3 separate regions of the Homo sapiens genome follow, and all the other regions are linked to region 1. Evidence: promoter capture Hi-C in 16 types of primary human blood cells and fetal thymus (Javierre and others, 2016). All regions are on one chromosome and are shown on one strand. Each heading gives the region's core, a stretch centred on a gene start or on the middle of the fragment in contact. The rest is flanking DNA. Distances are from core to core; before and after follow the strand shown.

What was found. The method cuts DNA at HindIII sites, captures the fragments that hold promoters and counts their contacts. A CHiCAGO score of 5 or more calls a contact.
Region 2: the fragment with the promoter of SDHC here is called in contact with the fragment with the promoter of UFC1 in region 1 in 2 of 17 cell types (naive CD4 T cells and M1 macrophages); the score reaches 6.1 in naive CD4 T cells.
Region 3: a fragment that was not itself captured here is called in contact with the fragment with the promoter of UFC1 in region 1 in 1 of 17 cell types (erythroblasts); the score reaches 5.1 in erythroblasts.

Annotation. Positions count from the first base shown.
Region 1 is chr1:161,152,572-161,155,368 of GRCh38, reverse strand. It overlaps UFC1 (ubiquitin-fold modifier conjugating enzyme 1), which reads right to left and starts at 1,391. Exons shown (of 6, transcript NM_016406.4): 1 at 1,249-1,391. The coding sequence starts at 1,371. RefSeq lists enhancers at 1,084-1,473, 1,514-1,563, 1,654-1,703, 592-1,791, 1,029-1,809. The HindIII fragment of the contact is 16,464 bases long and covers 1-2,797 here.
Region 2 is chr1:161,313,004-161,315,800 of GRCh38, reverse strand. SDHC (succinate dehydrogenase complex subunit C) reads right to left here and starts at 1,420. Exons shown (of 6, transcript NM_003001.5): 1 at 1,376-1,420. The coding sequence starts at 1,395. RefSeq lists silencers at 1,370-1,439, 1,470-1,529 and an enhancer at 1,081-1,844. The HindIII fragment of the contact is 7,788 bases long and covers 1-1,860 here.
Region 3 is chr1:161,014,115-161,016,911 of GRCh38, reverse strand. The region is part of intron 1 of F11R (F11 receptor); the gene reads left to right. Among named protein-coding and RNA genes, the nearest start is that of F11R, 5.6 kb to the left of the region's middle. RefSeq lists enhancers at 410-1,007, 2,649-2,797. The HindIII fragment of the contact is 7,117 bases long and covers 1-2,797 here.

The sequences.
Region 1 (2,797 bases), core at 142-2,641:
CAAACACATCATGCTGGTGCCTGTGCCGTTTCTAGATTCTATGCCTTTGCTCATGCTGTCCCTTTTGGCTTGAATGTCCTTCTACTCTTATGTTTTATCAGGCTAGCTTATGTTTACTCTTTAAGTTTCAGCTCAAGCATTACCTCTTCCAGGAAACCTTCCGTGACCGAATGCAAACTGGATGTCTCCTCTTATGCTCTCAAAACATCCTAGCCATTTCTCGCTTTATATCTGTCCATATCTGTCTCAGTCTCTCTCCACTTAAACACTGTATTATAATGATCTGGTTTTGTCTACCTCAGTAAGTTCCTCCTTATTCGGCTTGGTATCTCCTCCCTAGGTTCTATATGCACAGTAATTTTTTTTTTTTAGTGAATGAATACATGAGGTAGGAGAACTAGAACTGCTGGTCTTTGAAGCAGGCAGAAACTACAAGGAAGACAAACTTTTCTCACCTTCCACAGTAGAGATAACTGAGAAGACAGCCCGTTTCTAACTATGAGCTAAACTCCCCAACTCTCTGTAGTTAACACCTACTTGAATTTTCAGCCCTAATGTGGCTTGAAAGAGTGAAGAGTGAGGCCAGGCGCGGTGGCTCACGCCTGTAATCTCAGCACTTTGGGAGGCCGAGGCGGGTGGATCAGGATCACGAGGTCAGGGGATCGAGACCATCCTGGCCAACACGGTGAAACCCCGTCTCTACTGAAAATACAAAAATTAGCTGGGTGTGGTGGCGCGCGCCTGTAGTCCCAGCTACTCAGGAGGCTGAGGCAGGAGACTCGCTTGAACCCGGGAGTCGGAGGTTGCAGTGAGCCGAGATCGCGCCACTGCACTCCAGCCTAGCAACAGAGCGAGACTCCGTCAAACAAACAAACAAAACAGTGAAGAGTGAAGAAGGGGGCAGAGAGATGCGGACTGGGAGTTGGCGCCCTGAGGATTTTTGTTCACATCCAGGTGAACAAACACCTGTAGCCAGGGAGACACGTCACCTTCTGGGGAAGCGTATCCCTAAAATAACTGCTGCTTTTAGCCGCAAGGTCTGGCCCCACTGTGCACCTCACCCGAGTCTTTTTTGCCCTCTCCCCACCATCCCTCCTTAGTCCCCGAGCCCCACAATAGTCCCATTTCTATGAATTTGGGCGTTAAACTTAAAAACCGGAAGCGGCTTCCACACGGAGCCTATTATTGAGGACACCTGATTTCTCCCAACCCTTATGCTACGCGTTAGACTGTAGAAACACAACTAACCCGGATAAGGGACTGATATTCCTCCTTCAGTCGCTGCACCCACAACTCACGATCTCGGGGTCCGGCGTTAGTCTTCAGCACCGGGATCTCAGACACAACACGTCGCGTGGCTTCATCCGCCATCTTGGACCAGGGCGCAAGAGAAACGCGGAAGTGGTGTTGCCTGTAGCTTACCTCAAGGCGCCGTCATCTTTACTATGGGAAGATGAGACGTTGGGTTGCTGTAAGACCTCTTTTGAATAAGATCTTTGTTTTCTTGTCACCTAGTTACCCGCTTGTGAGTGCATCGAGAAGAACAGAATGTAAACAGATTACTCCGTCCTATATATGACACCTATCATTAAAATCACCGCATAAGGCACAAAGGGTGACTTCCGTTCATGCTCAGAGAAGTAATCGCAGAAAACCCGGACACCTTCCCAAACTTGGAAAGCTCTTAGAACTTCAGGCTGCTGAAGGCATTTTTACTTATTTATTTATTTTTATTATACCTTAAGTTCTAGAGTACATGTGCACAACGTGCAAGTTTGATACATAGGTATACTTGTGCCATGTTGGTTTGCTGCACCCATCAACTCGTCATTTACATTAGGTATTTCTCCTAATGCTATCCCTCCCCCAGCCCCGAGCCCCCAACCCCAAGGCGCTTTTCAAGGCACTGACTTCCTAAAACGAGCGATTCGTGTTTCCTCTTCGAAGAACTTTTCCTTTGCTTATATATAGTCCTGCCTCTAGATGCAGTTATCCTGTAGAAGGATGTTTAACTCCTGATAAAGATTAGAAACCATGCAGAATCAAAAGACAAATCCCTGCAAGATTTCTGCCTTAGTCTAGCCATTCACTGAGTCCTAGACTTTTTTTTTTTTAGACAGTGTCTCAATCTGTTGCCCAGGCTGGAGTACAGTGGTACGATCATAGCTTACTGCATCTTCCATCTCCCGGGCTCAAGCGATCCTCCTGCCCCAGCCTCCCCAAAGTGCTGGGATTACTTGTGGGGAAACAATAAACAAACTCCAGTTGGACTTAAAATCTAAACACATTAATTTTTGCTTTTTTTTTTTTTTTTTTTGGAGACCGAGTTTCACTCTTGTTGCCCAGGCTGGAGTGCAATGGCATGATCTCGGCTCACCGCAACCTCCGCCTCCCGGGTTCAATTGATTCTCCTGCCTCAGCGTCCTGAGTAGCTGGGATTACAGGCATGTGCTACCACGCCCGGCTGATTTTGTATTTTTAGTAGAGACCGGGTTTCGCCATGTTGGCCAGGTTGGTCTTGAACTCCTGACCTCAGGTGATCCACCTGCCTCAGCCTCCCAAGGTGCTGGGATTACAGGCGTGAGCCACCGCGCCGGCCATTTTGGCTTTAATTTAAATATCCTGTTTGGCTGGCGTGGTGGCTCAAGCCTGTAATCCCAGCAACTTGGGAGGCCAAGGCAGGTGGATCACTTGAGGTCAGGAGCTCCAGACCAGCCTGACTGGTGAAACCCGTCTCTACTAACAATACAAAATTAGCTAGGCATGGTGGCGCACGCTTGTAGTCCCGGCTACTTGG
Region 2 (2,797 bases), core at 171-2,670, 160 kb before region 1:
TCTATACTTTGTCTGTGTCTCTTTCTTTTCCAAGTCTCTCGTTCCACCTAACGAGAAACACCCACAGGTGTGGAGGGGCGACCCATCCCTTCAGTGGACAGCGCTGCACAACTCAAAATGATACTGTATGGATACACTTAATGACTATAATGATCCTCAGCTTTTAAACACTAATTCCAAAACTCCTAAAATGAACTGTTTGGAACCAATATGATCACTTCAAACTAAATGTTAATTTTACCAAAAGCCCCTAACATCGATACCAAAATATATCAGAGAATTCAAAAGCATTCAATTATGGTCAAACCATCTGGAATAAAGAAGACAGCACTGGCAAGACAAGCCTTGGCATACCTTAGACAGAAGATACATATGGAGATGAAAAACAGGGAGAAAATGAAGGATTAAGATAACCCTGATTTCAACTCCAAGAGGAATCATTTTGTCACAGAAAAACTAAACAAAGTCCCTCTATTTTTAAACTGGGTGACTGAAGTGGAAAGAGAAATGAGAACACATTTGGGGAAATCAGGGATTGAAATCTCAACAGCATTGAAGCTAACTTTCCATAACAAACAATTTCCAAAAATAAGGCTGGCACAAAACTATGCTGGGATTTGTACCAGGCGTGTCTAAAGGCGCTAGTCGCTGTGACTAGAGAGGCTGAGCAGAGAATGAGACCTAGACAGCGGAAAGTTCAGAATGAAAGAAAATCTAGGGTATTTCTCTGGACAACTAATTCACATTTTAGAGAAAAACTGGGACACTCACTCTCCCTCCCAAGTAAAATGATTAACTAAAAATGAATTCCCCGGGTTGCTCTGGGGCAGCAGAGGTCCGCCCTGGGTGCTAATGCTAATCGCCACCCCAGTAGGGATCCACCCTTTGCCAGCAGCCCGCTGGGAACCCAGACAGCGCCCACTCACGGTGGGAGCAGCTAGTGTCTGAAGGCATTCGAAGCAAAGGCAAAATACACGAAGATCTCTCTCTCCGAAGCTAAATGTCTAAATACGCTCTCGAAATCGTAGGACCCATGGGTGGCTGACCTTGAAGTTATTTTCTCAGAGCTCGGCTCTGGGTGCAGGCCCGAGAGCAATTTGCGTTAGAAGTACTAGAGGAGGTGGGGAAAACAGAAGGGGCGAGAGCCGAGGGCCCCTCGATACGAAGTCAGTGACCCCGAAGCCCTACGGAGCGCACCGGAGCGGCTGGGGGGGACGGGAAAAGGGGTCTCTAGGATCCCCGAGCGCTTGGCCTCCACACCCATGGGTCCTTTCCCTGCCCAGGCACAGGATAAACAGTTATCAGCAAAACGTGAGGGGCCAGTTCAGATCTCCGGAGGGCCGCAGGCACCAACTCCCAGTCCCACTGAAGTCACCTCAGCAACAGCGCAGCCATCTTGGGTTCCGGTCTGGACGGAAGTGACGCCAGGCGGCCCCGCCACCCGAGGGCGGAGGCGCGCCGGCTGGGGGTCGGGGTTGGGGGTGTCATGTGACGAGAGTCTCTTTAAAAGGCTCTGGAGCTTCTCCGCTCAGCTCTGCCTAGCTGGTTTGCTGGTTGTTTTCTGGTTTTTTAGTCTCCTCCTCCGCCTCCTGCAGCCGACTTCTACCGGAATTTGCCAGGATTTCGGCAGAAACGCCGCTGGCTCAAAATCTGCAGTCTACGTTCCACCTGCGTACATATTCATTTTGTATCGCACTCCCAAACAGCAAACGGCGGACTTGTTTAGATTCTTCCTTAAGGACTTCGCAGTCTGTTGCGTTCCCCCTGCCTCCCAGGTCGGCCTAAAAACGTGGTGGTTGGCCGGTTGAGACCCCGAAGAGAAAAGATACTTTGGGTTCCCTCCCTTTCTAATACGAAGCTTTAACCAGACAGATACATAAATTGTGACCTAAGTTGGGGAGTGTGTAGAGGGGCCTCGAGAAGACCTTGCGGACCACCATTCCCGAAAACGAGGAGCCTCATCTAACCACCTCGATTAGACCCCACAATTCCTGGGTTTGAGCTGCCACATGGACCAGGCGCCCACTAGCCGAGGACAATGCTCCCTTGTTCGTTGTTTCAGCGCTATGTGGGTGACACCCACAGCTAGAAGAACCCGGAGTGAGGGGAAGAACACGCTTTGATTTATATATGTGTATATATATATATACAGTTTTAGGGAACCCAAGCACAGGAATCAACTGCCGAGCACTCAAGACTGAAGAAAGAAGAAGAGCAAATGATAAAGGAAGGGAACAGAGCACAAAAGTTCTTGACTCTTGTGGGGAGTAGGGTGGAGAGGAGTAAAAGGGACAGGCTAGAGCAACTCCTATTTCTACAAAAAAAATACTCAATTATATTAATATTCAGATCTTATGTATATTTAGCATCCCTGCACTTCAGGATTTAAATAGCACAAATTCACTTATTTCTGCATCAGATGAATAATACTACTTTGCATTTCTATAATGCTTGACAAAGCACATTCGTACACTTTAGGATTGAAAGAGGCTCTCTAATCCAATCTACTATCTATGCAGGGATCTCCTCTGCAACACCCATAACAGCTGATCTTCAAGACTCTACCCCCCCATATTCAATGATGGGTACCTCAAACAACAAGTTTTATTTAATGAACAACTTATTCGTTAGTTATTATATTTAAATACAGTTTTGTGCTATCGAAATTCCAGTCATTGACTTGGCTCTCTGGAGCTTCACGTTAACAAACCCAAGGAATGCCTTTTTCACTCAGATCTTTTTTGGTTTTTCTTTTTCTTTTTCTTTTTCTTTTATTTTGAGACGTAGTCTCACTCTG
Region 3 (2,797 bases), core at 176-2,675, 140 kb after region 1:
ACAAAATGGAGTCTCCTATGTCTACTTCTTTCTACACAGACACAGTAACAATCTGATCTCTCTTGCTTTTCCCCACACTGGTGAGTCACTCCTCCTTTCCTCTCCCTCTACTCCCAGGAGTGAATTGTTCCCTCCAAACTAGAAACTGGTGACTGGCACTTCCTAGTTCTACCTGGAACTAGGAAACGAGTGGCAGTGGAATTTCAGTGTCCTTTAGTCTTTGCCTTCTGGCTCCAGATCACTTTTTTTTTTTTTGAGACGGAGTCTCATTCTGTTACCCAGGCTGGAATGCAGTAGCATGATCTTGGCTCACTGCAACCTCCACCTCCCGGCTTCAAGCGATTCTCCTGCCTTAGCCTCCCCAGCAGCTGGGACTACAGGCACGCGCCACCACGCCCGGCTAATTTTTTGTATTATTTATTTATTTATTTGTTTTTGAGACAGAGTCTCTCTCTGTCGCCAGGCTGGAGTACAGTGGCACGATCTCGGCTCACTGCAAACTCCACCTCCCGGGTTCATGCCATTCTCCTGCCTCAGCCTCCTGAGTAGCTGGGACTACAGGCGCCCGCCACCATGCCTGGCTAATTTTTTCTATTTTTAGTTGAGACGAGGTTTCACTGTGTTAGCCAGGATGGTCTTGATCTCCTGACCTCATGATCTGCCCGCCACGGCCTCCAAAAGTGCTGGGATTACAGGCGTGAGCCACCGCGCCCGGCCCCTAATTTTTTGTATTTTTAGTAGAGACGGGTTTTCACCATGTTGGCCAGGCTGGTCTCGAACTCCTGACTTCAAGTAATCCTCTTGCCTAGGCTTTCCAAAGTGCTGGGATTACAGGCGTGAACCCCTGCACCTGGCCACTCCAGACCACTTTTACCTCACCATGTTGCTCTTCAGTTCCTTTGTGATCATGTCTTGTGGAGTCTCCAGCCCAGTTCCGATTCAAGATAGAGCTACTGTGATTTTTTTTAAAAAAATTTAATTAGAATAGGTTAATTGACATGGTTTTATAATTAAAATGATATCAAAGGGGTGGGGTATCTCATTCCCATGTTGCTCCTGTTCACCCCAAACCCCAATAGTTTCTAATGTCTCTTCAGTGTTTCATTTTACAGATACAAGTATATATAAATAATACTTGTTTTTTCTCCCCTTTCTGACACAAAAAGAGGCATACTACATATATTCTACATCTTGCTTATATATATATATCATGGAGTTTTGTTGTTGTTGTTGTTGTTTTTGAAACAGGGTCTCACTCTGTTGCCCAGGCTGGAGTACAATGGCATGATCATAGCTCACTGCAGCCTTTTTTTTTTTTTTTGAGACAAAGTCTTGCTGTGTTGCCCAGGGAGGAGTCCAGTGGCGTGATCTTGTCTCACTGCAGACTCTGCCTCCCAGGTTCAAGTGATTCTCCTGCCTCAGCCTCCCGAGTAGCTGGGACACAAGCGTGCACCACCATTCTTGGCTAATTTTTGTGTGTGTGTATATATATATATATATATATTTTTTTTTTTGAGATGGAGTCTGGCTCTGTCACCCAGGCTGGAGTGCACTGGAGCAATCTCGGCTCACTGCAAGCTCCGCCTCGCGGGTTCACGCCATTCTCCTGCCTCAGCCTCCCGAGTAGCTGGGACTACAGGGGCCCGCCACCACTCCGGCTGATTTTTTGTATTTTTTTTAGTAGAGACGGGGTTTCACCGTGTTAGCCAGGATGGTCTCGATCTGCTGACCTCGTGATCTGCCTGCCTCGGCCTCCCAAAATGCTGGGATTACAGGCATGAGCCACTGTGCCCAGCCTTTTGTACATATTTTTTTAATTTAATTTTTTTTTTTTGAGATGGAGTCTTGCTCTGTTACCCAGGCTGGAGTGCAGTGGCGTGATCTCGGCTCACTGCAAGCTCTGCCTCCCGGGTTCACGCCATTCTCCTGCCTCAGCCTCCCAAGTAGCTGGGACTACAGGCACCCGCCACCATTCCCTGCTAATTTTTTTTTTTTTTTGTATTTTTAGTAGAGATGGGATTTCACCATGTTAGCCAGGATGGTCTTGATCTCCTGGCCTTGTGATCTGCCCCCATTGGCCTCCCAAAGTGCTGGGATTACAGGTGTGAGCTGCCCGGCTAATTTTTGTATTTTTAGTAGAGATAGGGTTTCACCATGTTGGCCAAGCTGGTCTTGAATTCCTGACTTCAAGTGATCCGCCTGCCTTGGCCTCCCAAAGTGCTGGGATTACAGGCATGAGCCACCGTGCCTGGCCTCACTGCAGCCTTGACCTCCTGGGTTCAAGCAATCCTCCAGTCTTAGCCTCCTGAATAGCTGAGGCTATAGGCAAGTGTGAGTGGTGAGCCATACCTGGCTAATTTTTTATTTTTTTAGTACAGACAGGGTCTCATCTGTTGTACAGGCTGGTCTTGAATTCTTGGCTTTAAGGGATCCTTTTGCCTTGGCCTTTCAAAATGCTGAATGACAGGTATGAGTCACTACACCTGGCCCATATTGGTTTCTAGGGATTGTGGCCTTGGCTGTTAGGATACATCCCACCCCCCTCCAAGTCAGCTGAGTTCAATTTGCACTTGTTCTGTGGACACATAAATGGGCAACACACGTTTCCACCACACCCAAAAATAGATTTAAATGCCATGCACATTTTATGTGATAATAATGAGACTTGTTTATCACATCTGTTAGGTTTGACTAGAGACCCTGGAGATCTCTAAACTCAAACCAGTTTCTGTTTCAGAGATTCAGGAAAGACCTGGATGACCTTGCGTCCAACATAATTGAGGATGAGGTTTCACTA